Linked DNA regions of Homo sapiens: region 1 is linked to region 2. The links are contacts of gene promoters, found by promoter capture Hi-C in blood cells and fetal thymus (Javierre and others, 2016). All regions are on one chromosome and are shown on one strand. Each heading gives the region's core, a stretch centred on a gene start or on the middle of the fragment in contact. The rest is flanking DNA. Distances are from core to core; before and after follow the strand shown.

Region 1 (7,150 bases), core at 1,990-4,489, 340 kb after region 2:
GTAGTGCATCACGCAGGTCTGGCCGCGCTTCAGGAGGGTGTGCGCGTCTCCTGGGGCGATGGTTTCCACCTGCACTCCCATGGCGGCTGCGGACGCTGGGTGGGCAGGCAGCGCGAGGGGCGGCGTGGACTCACAGCGACCTGGCAGCGGTTCCATGGCTCTGCCTAGTCCCCTTTCGCCGGGTTTTAACCACATATAATTTTGCTCCTCTCTGACTCTTGTTGGGGTTGTAATAGACTTTAGACAATCATTTCCAGTTCCAACCATGATCTGGTTCAGCCTTGGATGCCGCAGGCAGCGTCTGTGATGTCTGTTTCATACACCCTTTGGAAAGTCCTACGCTCAAGGCAAACAAGTTTGCCGCTGCCACATCCCCTTTGAACAGACGTACCAGTGACTATGAGCTTATCATCTGGACTGAAACAGCAGTCAATCATTGGGAACATGGTGGGAAGACCCGAGGCTGAAAAAAGTGCTTATTAAATTGTCGGATGTCCCATAATTTTAACGAATCATCACCTCCACGAGAGGCAAGGACATTACCATCATAGGAAAAAGTCACGCCAAGAAGTGTCTGTGCCCAAGTAATGAGGCTGTTTATAGTTGAACTTAGGATGAACCGTCAGATATCGGTCCCAGATCTGCATGCTTCCATTCTGGCAGGCGGCTGCTATGAGATTTCCATCTCTACTATATGTGCACGTTGTGGGAATGACATTTTTTTGTTCTGCATCGTCCGTGGTTTAAACACACTTTTTTTGTTTCTTTGGGTTTTCAATTTCCCACGTCCTCACAGTCCTGTAATCCAGGACAGTATAAACATTCTTGCCCCTGCTGGTTCCACAGTACTCCTCTCCTGGGTACACTTCCGTATTTCTTGCTGAACTTAAAATGCCAATAGAAGCTATTTCTTCACCTCCGTCAGGGTTACACTTCAGGAAAAGGAAGCAGGGGTTTTCATGTTGGTTGTCCGGGCCTCTCTTCAAACTCACCAGATCCTGGCCTGCAGCACGCGGCGCCAGCAGCTCCTCACTTTCGAAGTCGCGGGCTCTGAGACTGCCCGAGTGAGAAGGAGGCTGTGGGTCAGGGCCCCGCCCTGCGGCATCCCAGGAAGAGGACAGCGTGGGGCCGGAGTCAGGCCCGGTCCTGGGTCCGTGTCTCCATTCCGCCGCCTACTGCCAGGCCAGCCCAGCCCCGGAACTTCTCTTCCAGTGCTTGAGGGTCCGCCCGTGCAGTGTGGAAGTGGGCAGGCAGGGTGACTTCCAGCTCACTCCCCTGTCTTGTATTTTCCATAGTCTGGTTTAACAGTTGTATGTCGGTGGCAGTCATTATCGTCATCATCACTATTATCAGCGCGTATTTTATGGTGCCTTGATTAAGTGGAGGCACCGTGCTAGGTACAGTTAAGGACTTTACCTTTCTATAAGATACTGTCACCGTTTTTAAGGAGTGTCCCATCTCCATTTCTGGCCCAGAGGTAAGATTAGAGGTTCTGACATGGTGATAAGTTTGAAAAACAGATACAGCCCTGAAAGTCCCGGGAAGAAGGGAGGAGGAGAGGGAACAAGCTTCAGAGTGCTGGCTTCCAAAGTCCTTCCGCAGATAGCCAGTGTGCTTCCAGCTGCTCAGTGGGAAGAGACTCAGAAATAGTGGAACGCTGCAAGGAGGTCAAAGGAGAATGAAGCCTGAGACATGGCCACGGGGTTCAGTAACGGGTAATGGCACTGATGAACTTGCCATAGTGAGACTGGGACAGGAACCAGATGGCAAGAGGTTAACAAATCAGAGGGGGCTGGGAACTGGAGAGACAGGCTTGGTCAAGAGGAGAAAGGAGCAGGGTCAAGGGAAGATGTTTCCAAGACAGAATTCAAAAATGGAAAAATTTGATTATTTCTGGTTGTTTGATGGGTAAATGGGAGTTCATTATACAATTCTCTATACCTAGTGGGTATTTTTTAACTTCTTTAATAAAAATTTAGGAAAGGCAAAGTGAGAACTGAGACTGTGTGAAGAGAATGAAGAGATAGGTAAGAGAGGATACTAAATCTTTAAGACAGAATAATGATAATTGGTGGTACAGTCTCAGGGAAGGTTTAGAGATGGGAACAAAAGCACCAGTGAGGGAATTAATCTGCTGACAGGGGAAAGATAATAAAAATGGATGAAGATAAGAATAAAATGTGGATGAAAGAGGAAAGTGTTCATATAAAAATATTATAAGGCTGAAAGGAAGATGGATGAAGGAACTTGGGCCTTCATTTCTGCAAGTGGGAGGAGAGGTTATAACTCTCAAAGGAGTTGGGGCGAGGGAGGAGGGAGGGTTTGAGGAATGTGGAAAAGGGTTGGAATAACAGTTGCGGAATGCAGTAGGGAGTGAGTAAGAGGGGAAGATGACTGTTGAGAAGCAGGCCCATCTAAAGAAAGGCAGCCCAAGCTTTTAACCGATTCATACTTTGACAACCACCACCATAAAGCATGCAGAAAACAGCAAGCTAGAGTGATGTGGGGTCTCTTCCGACCCTAGAGCCTTCTGAAATCCCTAAGCTGGCAAGTGACTGTCCCAAGAACAAAAGTTTGTTAGAGCAAGTAGCAACTACTTGAAACACCCCACAATGAGCTGCTCCAGTGGGAAGTCTAAGGAAGGGCATCCATTTGCCCCAAAGTAAGCAGAGTAATAAATGTGTCCAGCCTCAATGTATGGCCCTCCGACTGCCAGAATCACCTGAAGCTTGTTAGAAATTCAAAATCTAAGGCCCTGTCCCAGACTTTCTAAATCAGAATCTGTATTTTAACAAGATTGCAGATGATTTACATGCACATTAAAATTTGAGAAGCCTTGGTCTGTAACTTTGCTAGAAGCTTTGATATACATATGGGTAATCACAGAAAAGCTAATGTCAATTTAAAAATAAATTGGGCCTCTACATTGTGCCTCACACTGTGAAGACCACCAAAGACCTGGATGCATTTCTCTACCCTTTAGGTTTAATCACAGTAGTTATTGCAAGTAGGAATTATTTTTGCAATTGCAGTTCAGTCTTGAAAACCTATAAAAGGGAAAAGGTTTATCTAACTTTGACATTCTGTGAATTGGAACTGATTATTCAATTTTAAGCAAGGGAGTTTATCATTTGACCTTGCTTCTGGACTCTCCACCACTGTCAGTGGCAGGGTAGCTCAGGTGCACTTAGAGCAGTCACACATCCTACCAATTACTACACTGAGTTACTTCCTTTTAAAACTTAGTTTTAATGTTTTTACCGCCTTAGAATTTGGTCTTATCCATAATTTTTGCTCTCTTTGCTCAGTCCTTTGGCAACTAGAAATCCATAGTTAGAGTCAGTGAGAGCATCTTTGAGCAGTGGGACAACATGTCCCTTCCAACTCGTTGGCATTGCTCTTTTCTTTCATAAGACACGCACTCAGTCTAAAGAGTGTGGGCTTGGGTTCAAGTGCTGACTTGCTTTCTAGCTGTGTGGTTTTGAGCAAACTCTTTACCCCCTGAGCCTCAACTTCCTTCCATATAGCAAAGAGGGAGGTTACTGGGTTACTATCACCCATCTCAGAGGGACATTGTGAGTTAATATTGAAAAGCATTAAAGTTATACCTAGCATGTAACAAGCTTACAGTAAATATTACTACATAATGTAATTTTATCAAAATTCTATTCTTGGCAATGAATAGTTTCAAAGGAGCCTATTCAGGGGAGCCTTCCCTATCCTGACTGGAATCCCCCTGTTACCCTATATGCTTTCATAGCTCTCTCTAGTCCATGGAACAAATTATAGTTTGTTATTATATGTTTTTGAGACGGTTTGATTAATGAAAGGCAACATGCGTAGAGGTTAAGAGCACAGACTTTTTTTTTTTAAACTAGATTGCTTGAGATCAAATCCTGTCTCCTGCTACTAGTGATGAGATCTTGGGAAAGTTACTTAATCTCTCTGGGATACAGTTTCCTTATGAGTAAAATTCAGATTAAAATAGAACCAACTTCATACAATTGCTCTGTTTTCTGTTATTAGCATTATTAATATCTATCTTCCTTTTCTTATAAGCTCTGTCCATTTAACACGTCTCCAGTACCTGACACATCAGTGCTCAAAAAATGTGCTAAAAGAATAAATATACAAAAGCTAAAATTGACCCCCATGAAAGTTCACTGACATGAAATTTTAAGACAGTTGTTTTTGATGTTTTTTTTTTTTTCCAAATTGTGCTTGCTGTCTTGGTGTTGTTATCATTTCCCAATATGTTTGTAAATTTTTATAAGCAAAAATTATTTGGAAAAATAATTTTTAAAAACTAATGGGGAAACACTTGTACAAAGGCACAGACAAAAAGAATAATACATAATTATATAAAGTCAGATTTATAGAAATTAAAAACACATGCAGTGTTAAAATTTCTCTGCATTTTAAAGCCATAACATGAATTTTTAAACTTGGTTTCTTTTTGAACCCATGTTTAATTTTAAAAAGAAGATGAGGAACCGCAGTTAGTGATGTTTTACCTTACGGAGAGTGGGTGAGGGGTGAGTTCCTGTTGAAAGTTAACTTCTCACCTATAACCATGATGATATCAAAGAATGCTAAAACAAATCAATATTTGGGCAGGTCATCTGGGACAGATTTACCAGCCAGAGCTCATGCCTCTCTGAGAGGTCACAGCTGTGCCCTTTTGTACTGAGACCTGCATTAGAGAGGACTATATAGCACCCCTTTGAGTCATGAGGCAGGAAGAGATTTGCATTTCTCATTCTAATTTTGAAAACAACTGGAGATACTTTTAAGGTGTAGATGGTGCCTGCTAGCTCCTCAAGTGCAAATCCTAACTCAGGCTGTGTCTACCCATACACAATTGTGGGAATTATCCAGATAATTTACCCTGTAGCAGAGAAAGGCCCTTGATTTAAACCTAAATGCATGCAGGCTGTCCTCTCTGTGTTGAGCAAACAATAGGTACCAGTCTTTGGTTTCTGAAGCAGGATATTGTGGTGATTAAGAGGATGGTCTCTATAATCAGACTCCTTTGGTTTAAATCTACCTTTATCTCTGTGGTGAATTAAAGCTGGCCAGAAATTCTCTGACATTTCTTTCATAAAGAGGTGAGGTCTATGTTCCCTCCCCTTGAATTTGAGATCATTCTGACTACACTGACCAATAAAATTGGCCAAAGTGACCCTGTCCCATTTTCTGGCCCAGGCCTTAAGACAATGGCAGCTTCTACTTATATCTCAGAGCCTTATGTTACCATGTAAAAGTCTAACTACAGTGTTGCAGAAACCACATGGAGAGCCCTGAGACTAAAGGAAGAAAAAGAGGGGCCCAGCTTTATATGAGCCCAGTGTTATAGCTGTTCCCATCAAGCCACCTTGATATATAAGTGAAACCACCTTGGATTCTGCACACCAATGTGGCCACAACTGAACAACAGCAAATAACCGCAATCAATACTACTTGGAGCAGAATAATCACCCAGTTTGTCTCAACCCATCTTCCTGACCCACAAAATCCTGAGATAAAGTAAAATGATTATTGTTTTAAATACACAGTTTTGAGTTGGTTTATTATACATCAAAAGATAACCAGTGGCCTGATGTGGTGGCTTACACCTGTATCCCAACAATTTGAGAGGCAGAGGCAGGAGGATTGCTTGAGCCCAGGAGTTTGAGACCAGCCTGGCCAAAATGGTGAAACCCCGTCTCTACTAGAAATACAAAAATTAGCTGGGCATGGTGGCACATGCCTGTGTTCTCAGCTACTCGGGAGGCTGAGGCAGAAGAATTGCTTGAACCTGGGAAGCAGAGGCTGCAGTGAGCTGAGATTGTGCCACTGCACTCCAGCCTGGGCAACAGAGTGAGACTCTGTCTCAAAAAAAAGAAAATTAGCCTGGTATGGTGGCATGTGCCTGTGGTCCCTCAGGAGGATAAGGCAGGAGGATCGCTTGAGCTCAGGCAGTGAAGGCTTTGGTGAGCTGAGATTGTGCCACTGCACTCCAGTCTGGGTGACAGAGTGATACCCGGTTCCAAAAAAAAAAAAAGATAACCAGAACAGTGTTTACCACTTGTTTTTGTTTCCTCATCTCTAAAATAGGGACAATAATGTCATGTAATTGCTTGCTTCTATAGAGCTCGATGACAACTCTAGATAGTGAGATAGAGACATCTGAGAGGGAGGTCTGTTTCTTCTAGTTCTCCAGACCATGTGGCCCTTTAGTAGTTCAGCCTCTCCCAGGACCCCGGTGCTTTAGGGAACACTCATGTTGAAGTGGCCCAGGCATGGAGGAGTCAGTCATGAAGCGTCAGAGCTCTTAGAGAATAGTGACTGTCTTCCCTTAGACAAAATATTTCACATTTCTTTGTTCGTGGAGGCCAAGTTGGCTCTCAACCCTGCTCCCAGCTCACCAACTTGGCACCTCACAATCTCCCCAAATCGTGCTTCATCCCATCTTCCATCTTTGCTCTTGTTATACTTCCTTGTCTCAAATCACCCCTCACTTTCTCTCTGCCAACACAGATTCCATCACAAGCACTTGGGAAATGAGTAAGCTCCAAGTTTTCCAAAGGATGTTCTGGAAAATCCTGGTCCTGCCAGCTACAGGATACAAAAGATGGGTTCTGCAGGCATTGAAGCTTGGAAAACGCTGGGTACTATATTTCTCAGCTCTCCAATAATTACACATGCACTTGCAAATTAAAGGCCCTAAAAAGTTCTCATTCAGAGCCCTATTTTGCTCTGTGTTATTCAGATTTCCCAAACATATCTTGACAGTAAAACAGTTTTCTTATAAAACAAGACTTCTTAGAAAAAGTGACCACTGAGCTGAGTCCTGGAGGGGTGTAGCAGGAAAGCAGGAGAAGCGGGCAGAGCAGGAAGCAGGAAGACAGGAGGGCTGATCTGGCTGGAAGACAAATCAGGGAGGACTAAGTTTAAGATCTGAGGGCCATGGAAGCCTCCTGAAGGCTTTCAGCAAAAATGTAATATCAGTTTAGCATTTATAGAGATCACTAGTTCTCACTTTATAAAGATCACTAACTTTCACTACCTGATTTGATCTTTATTTTTTGATTGAAGACCTATAGTAAGCAAAACATGTTGCATTATTACCTAACATCTATGCACACATAACAAAAATTTCATAAAATGG
Region 2 (6,574 bases), core at 369-2,868:
TCCAGACCTGTGAAAATGAAATATCTATTGTGTAAGCCACCCAGTCTGTGGTGTTTTGTTATGGCAGCCCTTGCAAACAAATGCAACCTCCCGCAAGGAATTGATGGTGTGCCATTGCTGCCCCTGCATTCGTAACAGGAATACAAGTGGGCAGCTCCTGCTCACAGCTCCTGACAAACGTGGAAACCAGACACATGCCCCACCTTCCCTTGGGTAGCATGTCTCTTCCCAAAGAATCTTAGATGAGTCAGGTGCAGTGACTACAGCAAGGAAGAAGACACTATCTCTAGGAAGGAATGGGGTTCCAGGTTTTGAGCAAATCTCACTTCTTTCTCCAAAACAGACATTCTTTTTATGCAGGTGAAATTACACTAAAGTTAATATCAGTCTTCATTAGGAGAAAATTGAATTAGGATAATTAAGTCTTGAAGAAGAAAATTAAGCCAAAAAGAATAATATGGCAGATACTTGTGGAAAGGAATCTTTTTTACTATTGATTTTGATATTTGCTCTTAAGTTTTGTATCTAGAACAAATAACTTGTGGACTATTAGTCTGGTTGTTTTCCATAGGAGCCTTCTGTGATTTTTTGCAGCCCTAGTTCCTGACCTGAGCTACCTCCATGTTTACTTCTCTAACTCACTGAGTTTGACGAACCTGTTGTTTCCCATTACTTAGAGGTACTTTATTCATCTGAAGGGCCTAGGAAAGGGAGGCAAGTTTAACTTCAATCCAATTGCATCTAATTTACAAATTCTGAACTGGAAACTGACTGAAGAAAATGTTGCACTTTCATTTATGTCCCTGTGTGCCTAAATAAAACAGCATCCCTCAATCCATGCTAACACATATATTTTCTAGGTGAACTGGACAAAGTTATACTACTTGTTTTATCTAAATCTGATTTTTTTAGAAAAGGGAAAGTGTTGCGATCGTGAACTCCACGTTGAGATGTCAGGAATAGATAATTTACTGCATAGTTTTAGGAGCACTGGACTGAAAGCCAGGGGATTTCCCTCCTAGTTCTTCTATCCTCTGGGGCTCAAACTAGTCTTTTGTCAAATGCCTACAAGATGAAGTCCATGGATTCTTTCTTTCAACAAATATCTTTTTGCCAAGCACGTTCAAGGCTTTGCTCTTTCCAGCTGAACTATTCTAGAATTTCCATTATTTTAAAGCAACTCTTCAGAGTGTTTAGCCCCGAGTTGCACCCCATTTCAGTTTTTGCAACCCCATCCTCCAGAAGCTCAGGGACTACTGAAGAGACATGAATAACGCTCCTCAAAGTAAGTACAAAATGTTACAAGATAGATGATGAATTGTCAGAACGTACTCAAAAGCCAAAACATACCGCCTGGCCCAAAGCAGTAAAAGACGAAAGGCAGGGACCCAGCGGTCCCCGCACCCACCGGCCACTGAGCATAGAGCAGTGGCAAGCTCGCGCGGCGGAGTGGGAGGCGCAGAGACCGAAAGCACTGCAGCGCCAGAGCGCGGGCTGACCAGGCTGGCGTGACCGCTTTCCCGACGCCTGCCACGCCCCGCGGCGGCCTCTTTAAGTAGCGGAGCCGCGGGCGGGGCCGGCTGGCGTTCACGTGACCCGGCGTCATTGGCTCGCTCGCGGAAGTAGTCCTACATTCGCGGTCAGCGCGGGGTCTCCGGGCGCCCTGCAGGGCGGGCAGGCTGTGCCATCCCGCCGGACGTCGGGATGGTGCAGCTGTACAACCTGCACCCGTTCGGGTCGCAGCAGGTGGTGCCCTGCAAGCTGGAGCCGGACCGGTTCTGTGGCGGGGGGCGTGACGCGCTTTTCGTGGCGGCGGGCTGCAAGGTGGAGGCGTTCGCGGTGGCCGGCCAGGAGCTGTGCCAGCCGCGGTGCGCCTTCTCCACGCTGGGCCGGGTGTTGCGCCTGGCCTACAGCGAGGCTGGTGAGTAATCTAGAGAGCCAGGGGCCGCCTGGGGTCCAGCTTGAGGCCTCCTAGCTAGCGGACCGAACGTCTGGGCTGTAGCTCTAGCTAGGGATGGGACTTCTTGCTTCCCGGAATTTGCCGGATGGTCTCCCTGGGTCTGGCCGCTGATTGCTTGAAGTCGCATTGAGCTATGCGGTTGTCGCGGCAAGCATAGGTATGAGCTTGCTTCTGTCGGGGCGGAGACGCTGACATCTCTTCGTCTTGGTTTTCTGCAGAAAGGCCTCTGGCTGGATTCCACTCATCTCGGATACTTAAGCAAACAACAACAAAAAACTCTTTAGTGCATCAGATTTCAAAGACTTACCAAAAAAACAAGTAGGAATAAGGAGACTAGTACTGTATCCCGGAACCTCCAAGTACTCCCAGCTTTAACAATTATTCCAACTCTTGGCAGTTCTTTCACATCTGTACCTCCATCTACTTCCGGTCGGTTTTTGAAAGCTCACATTATGTGTTGATTTTTAAATGTGTGTAAGTAGAACTCAGACTGCCCCCCTCTCTTCTCTTAAACATCTGTGGCCGGGCGCAGTGGCTCACGCCTGTAATCCCAACACTTTGGGAGGCTGAGGCAGGCGGATCACGATGTTAGGAGTTCGAGACCAGCCTGGTCAATTTATTGAAACCCCGTCTGTACTAAAAATACAAAAATTAGCCGGACGTGGTGGTGGGCGCCTGTAGTCTCAGCTACTTGGGAGGCTGAGGCAGGAGAATCGCTTGAACCGGGGAGGCGGAGATTGCCCCATTGCACTCCAGTTTAGGCGACAGAGTGAGACTCCGTCCCAAAACAAACAAAAACAAACAGTTGTAAGAGCAGCCGTTACTCTTTCACACCAGAAATGTGAAGCAATACCAAGGAAATACTGTGTGGGTGAATCCTATTTTAGAAAAATCCAACATTTAAAACTAGATCCCTTTTAGATTACAGAAGAATTTACCATATAATTCCTTTAATACACTTACCTTCGATTCATACTTTACAAGATGGGTGTAAAGTTCAGTATTTACGTTGCAAAAGCTGGTGGCTATGCTATTAATGAAGTGGAGAACTTGAACCTGGAAGATTGGAGATCTCTCTCTAATCCCTACCCCGCAGCTGGTTCGGTGTGAGTTTATAGAAACCTTGGGGTCTGAGTTTATGTTAAAAAAAAAAAAAAAAAACAAAAAGTTGAATAAATAGATCAGTGATATCCAGACCCTGGGATTTCGTGGCTCAATTAAAAACTGTGGGGTTACCATACATAGTATCTGACTGCTTATTTTGTCAAGTAAAGACATATACAGGCATACCTTGTTTTTTTTGCATTTCACTTTGTTGTACTTTGCCGATACTGCGTGTTTTTTTCTCCCCAATTGAAAGTTTGTGGCAACTCTGTGTGGAGCAAATCTACCAGTTCCATTTTTCACACTGCATGTGCTCACTACATGTCTCTTGAGTCACATTTTGATAGTTCTTGGCAATATTTCAAACTTTATCATAATTATTGTATCTATTACGGTGATCAGCAATCTTTGATGTTACTATTGTAGTAGTTTTGGGGTGCCATGAACTGTGCCCATGTGAGATGGTGAACTTAATTGATATGTGTTGTGTATGTTCTGATTACTGCTCTGATCGTCTCTGCCTGCTCAGGCTGCCCTAGGCCCTGAGACACAACAATATTGAAATCAGGCCAATTAATAACCCTACAATGTCTTCTAAATGTTCAAGTGACACTTGGACGTCTCTCACTTTAAATCAAAAGCTAGAAATGATTAAGCTTAGTGAGGAAGGCAGGCGTGTCAGAAGCTGAGATAGGCTGCACGGTAGGCCTCTTGGACCAAACACTTAGCCAAGTTGTGACTGCAAAGGAAAAGTTCTTGAAATTAAGTGTTACTCCAGTGAACACAAATGATTAGAAAGCCTTATTGCTGATAGGAAAAAAACTTTGCTCTAGGTAGAAGATCAAGCCAGCCAAAATACTCCCTTAAGCCCAGGCTTAATACAGAGCAAGGCCCTCTGTTCAACTCTGTGAATGCTGAGAGAGGTGAGGAAGCAGCAGAATAAAAGTTTAAAGCTAGCAGAGTTCAGCTCATGAGGTTTAAGGGAAGAAGCTGTCTCCATAATATAAAAGTGCAAGGTGAAACAGCAAGTGATGATGTAGAATCTGCAGCAAGTTATCCAGAAGTCCAGAAGATATAGCTAAGATGAGTTTATGGAGGCAGCTGTGCTAAACAACAGATTTTTTCAGTGTAGACAAAACAGTCTTAAATTGGAAGAAGATGCCATCTAGGACTTTCTTGGCTAGAGAGGAGAAGATAATGCCTGGCTTCAAAGAACAGGCTGACTCTTGTTAGGGGGTGATGCAGCTGGTGACTAAATTGAGGCCAGTTCTCATTTACCATTCTGAAAATCATAGGGCCCTTTTAAAAATTATGCTAAATCTACTCTGCCTGTGCTTTAGAATGAAAAAAGCCTGGGTGACAGCACAGCTGTTACAACATTGTTTACTGAATATTTTAAGCCCACTGTTTTGATCTACTGCTCAGAAAACAATATTCTTTTCAAAAGATTACTGCACATTGACAATGCACCTAGTCCCTCAAGACCTCTGATGGAGATGTAGAAGGAGATTGATGTTGTTTTTATGCCTGCTAACACAGCATCCATTCCGCAGCCCATGGATCAAGTAGTAATTTTGACTTTCAAGTCTCATTATTAAAGAAATACATTTGGTAAGGCTATAACTGCCACAGATAAGTGATTCTTCTGATGGATCTGGGCAAAATAAATTGAAAATCATCTGGAAAGAATTCACTCTTTCTAGATGCCATTAAAAACATTCAGGATTCATGGAAGGAGATCAGATACCAACATTAACAGGAGTTTGGAAGTAGTTGATTCCAACTCTCATGGATGACTTTGAGGGGTTCAAGACTTAGGTGGATGAAATAACAGTAGATGTAGTGGAAATAGCAAGAAAGCTAGAATTGGAAGTGGAGCCTGAAGATGTGTTGGAATTCCTGCAATCTTATGATCAAACTTGAATGGGTGAGGAGTTGCTTCTCATGGATGAACAAAGAAAGTGGTTTCTTGAGATGGAATTGTTTCTATTGAAGATGCTGGGAACATTGTTCAAAAGACAACGAAGATTTAGAATATTTCATAAACTTAGTTGATAAAGCAATGAGAAGGTTTGAAAAGATTAACTCCAATTTTGAAGTTCTGCTGTGGGTAAAATGCTATCAAATAGCATTGCATGCTCCAGAGAAATCTTTTGTGAAAGGAAGAGTCAATTGATGGAGCAAACTTAATTGTTTTATTTTTTTATTTTATTTTATTTTATTTTATTTTTTTGAGACAGAGCTTCACTCTTGTTGGCCAGGCTGGAGTGCAGTGGCGTGAACTCGGCTCACCACAACCTCCACCTCCCAGGTTTAAGCAATTCCCAGCCTCAGCCTCCCAAGTAGCTGGGGTTACAGGCATGCGCTACCACTTGTGGCGAATTTTGTATTTTTAGTAGAGATGGGGTTTCTCCATGGTTGGTCAGGCTGGTCTCAAACTCCCGACCTCAGGTGATCCACCCGCCTTGGCCTCACAAAGTGCTGGCATTACAGGTGTGAGCCACTGTGCCCGGCCCATTGTTGTCTTATTTTAAGGATTTGCCACAGCCACCCCAGCCTCCAGTGACCACCACCCTGATCAGTCAGCAGCCATCAGCATCGGGGCAAGACCCTTCACCAGTGAAAAGATATGTCTCGTTAAAGGCTTGGATGATCGTTAGCATTTTTTTTAGCAATAAAATATTTTTAGTTAAGGTATGTACATTGCTTTGTTTTTTTGTTTGTTTGTTTTTTAGGTATAATGCAATTTCACACCTAATAGACTATAATCTAGTACAAACATAACTTTTTTATGCACTGGGAAACCAAAAAATTTATGTGACTCTTTTTATTGCATTATTTGCTTTATTGCGGTGGTCTGGAAGCAATCCTCCAATATCTCTGGGATATGCCTGTGTTTTTTTTTAAAAAAAATGAAAAGCCTTACTATTTACTGTCATTATTTATAAAAGAAAAAACACTTAGCATCAAACATTGGATATCTTTAGCTTTGTGAACAACTTACTCTGCTGTCATTGGTTTTTTGTTTTTGTTTTTGCCTAATGACAACATTAGCAGGGGCCTGCACTGGGCCACGGACCTGTTTGAAAAACCTCTCATTAACTCTTTAAGTTCCCTTTCAGCAGGAATATTCCAATTTTGGTATTATAAAATCTGTCTTTAATGGTCATACCTGTTAAAATATTGGTAGTTTTCTCTACGTCACTCCTTTTAAGGCATAAGAGTTCTCACTTTCAAGAGTTCTACTGAGTAACAAACTCACCACTTTCAACTTTTATATGTGTGTGTGTGTGAGAGAGAGAAAGAAAGACAGGGACAGACAGGCATACACACAGACAGATAATATGTTTACATGATTTACTTCATTCTTCCAAGTGGATGTTTATTTTAGAATTTGGAGTGGCAGGTATTATGTAAACTTCTAGCTTTCTTACCTGTCGGATCCTTGGATGGCCACTACCTATGCATACGAATCACTTGGGGAGTTTTTAAAAATCTCTATGCCTGGGC

What was found. The method cuts DNA at HindIII sites, captures the fragments that hold promoters and counts their contacts. A CHiCAGO score of 5 or more calls a contact.
Region 1: a fragment that was not itself captured here is called in contact with the fragment with the promoter of HPS3 in region 2 in 1 of 17 cell types (M1 macrophages); the score reaches 6.5 in M1 macrophages.

The regions. Positions count from the first base shown.
Region 1 is chr3:149,464,034-149,471,183 of GRCh38, forward strand. It overlaps the pseudogene FKBP1AP4. Among named protein-coding and RNA genes, the nearest start is that of TM4SF4, 7.1 kb to the right of the region's middle. RefSeq lists enhancers at 1-92, 93-592. The HindIII fragment of the contact is 764 bases long and covers 2,858-3,621 here.
Region 2 is chr3:149,128,020-149,134,593 of GRCh38, forward strand. HPS3 (HPS3 biogenesis of lysosomal organelles complex 2 subunit 1) reads left to right here and starts at 1,619. Exons shown (of 17, transcript NM_032383.5): 1 at 1,619-1,921. The coding sequence starts at 1,705. RefSeq lists enhancers at 1,620-1,879, 1,661-2,160. The HindIII fragment of the contact is 10,979 bases long and covers 1-3,718 here.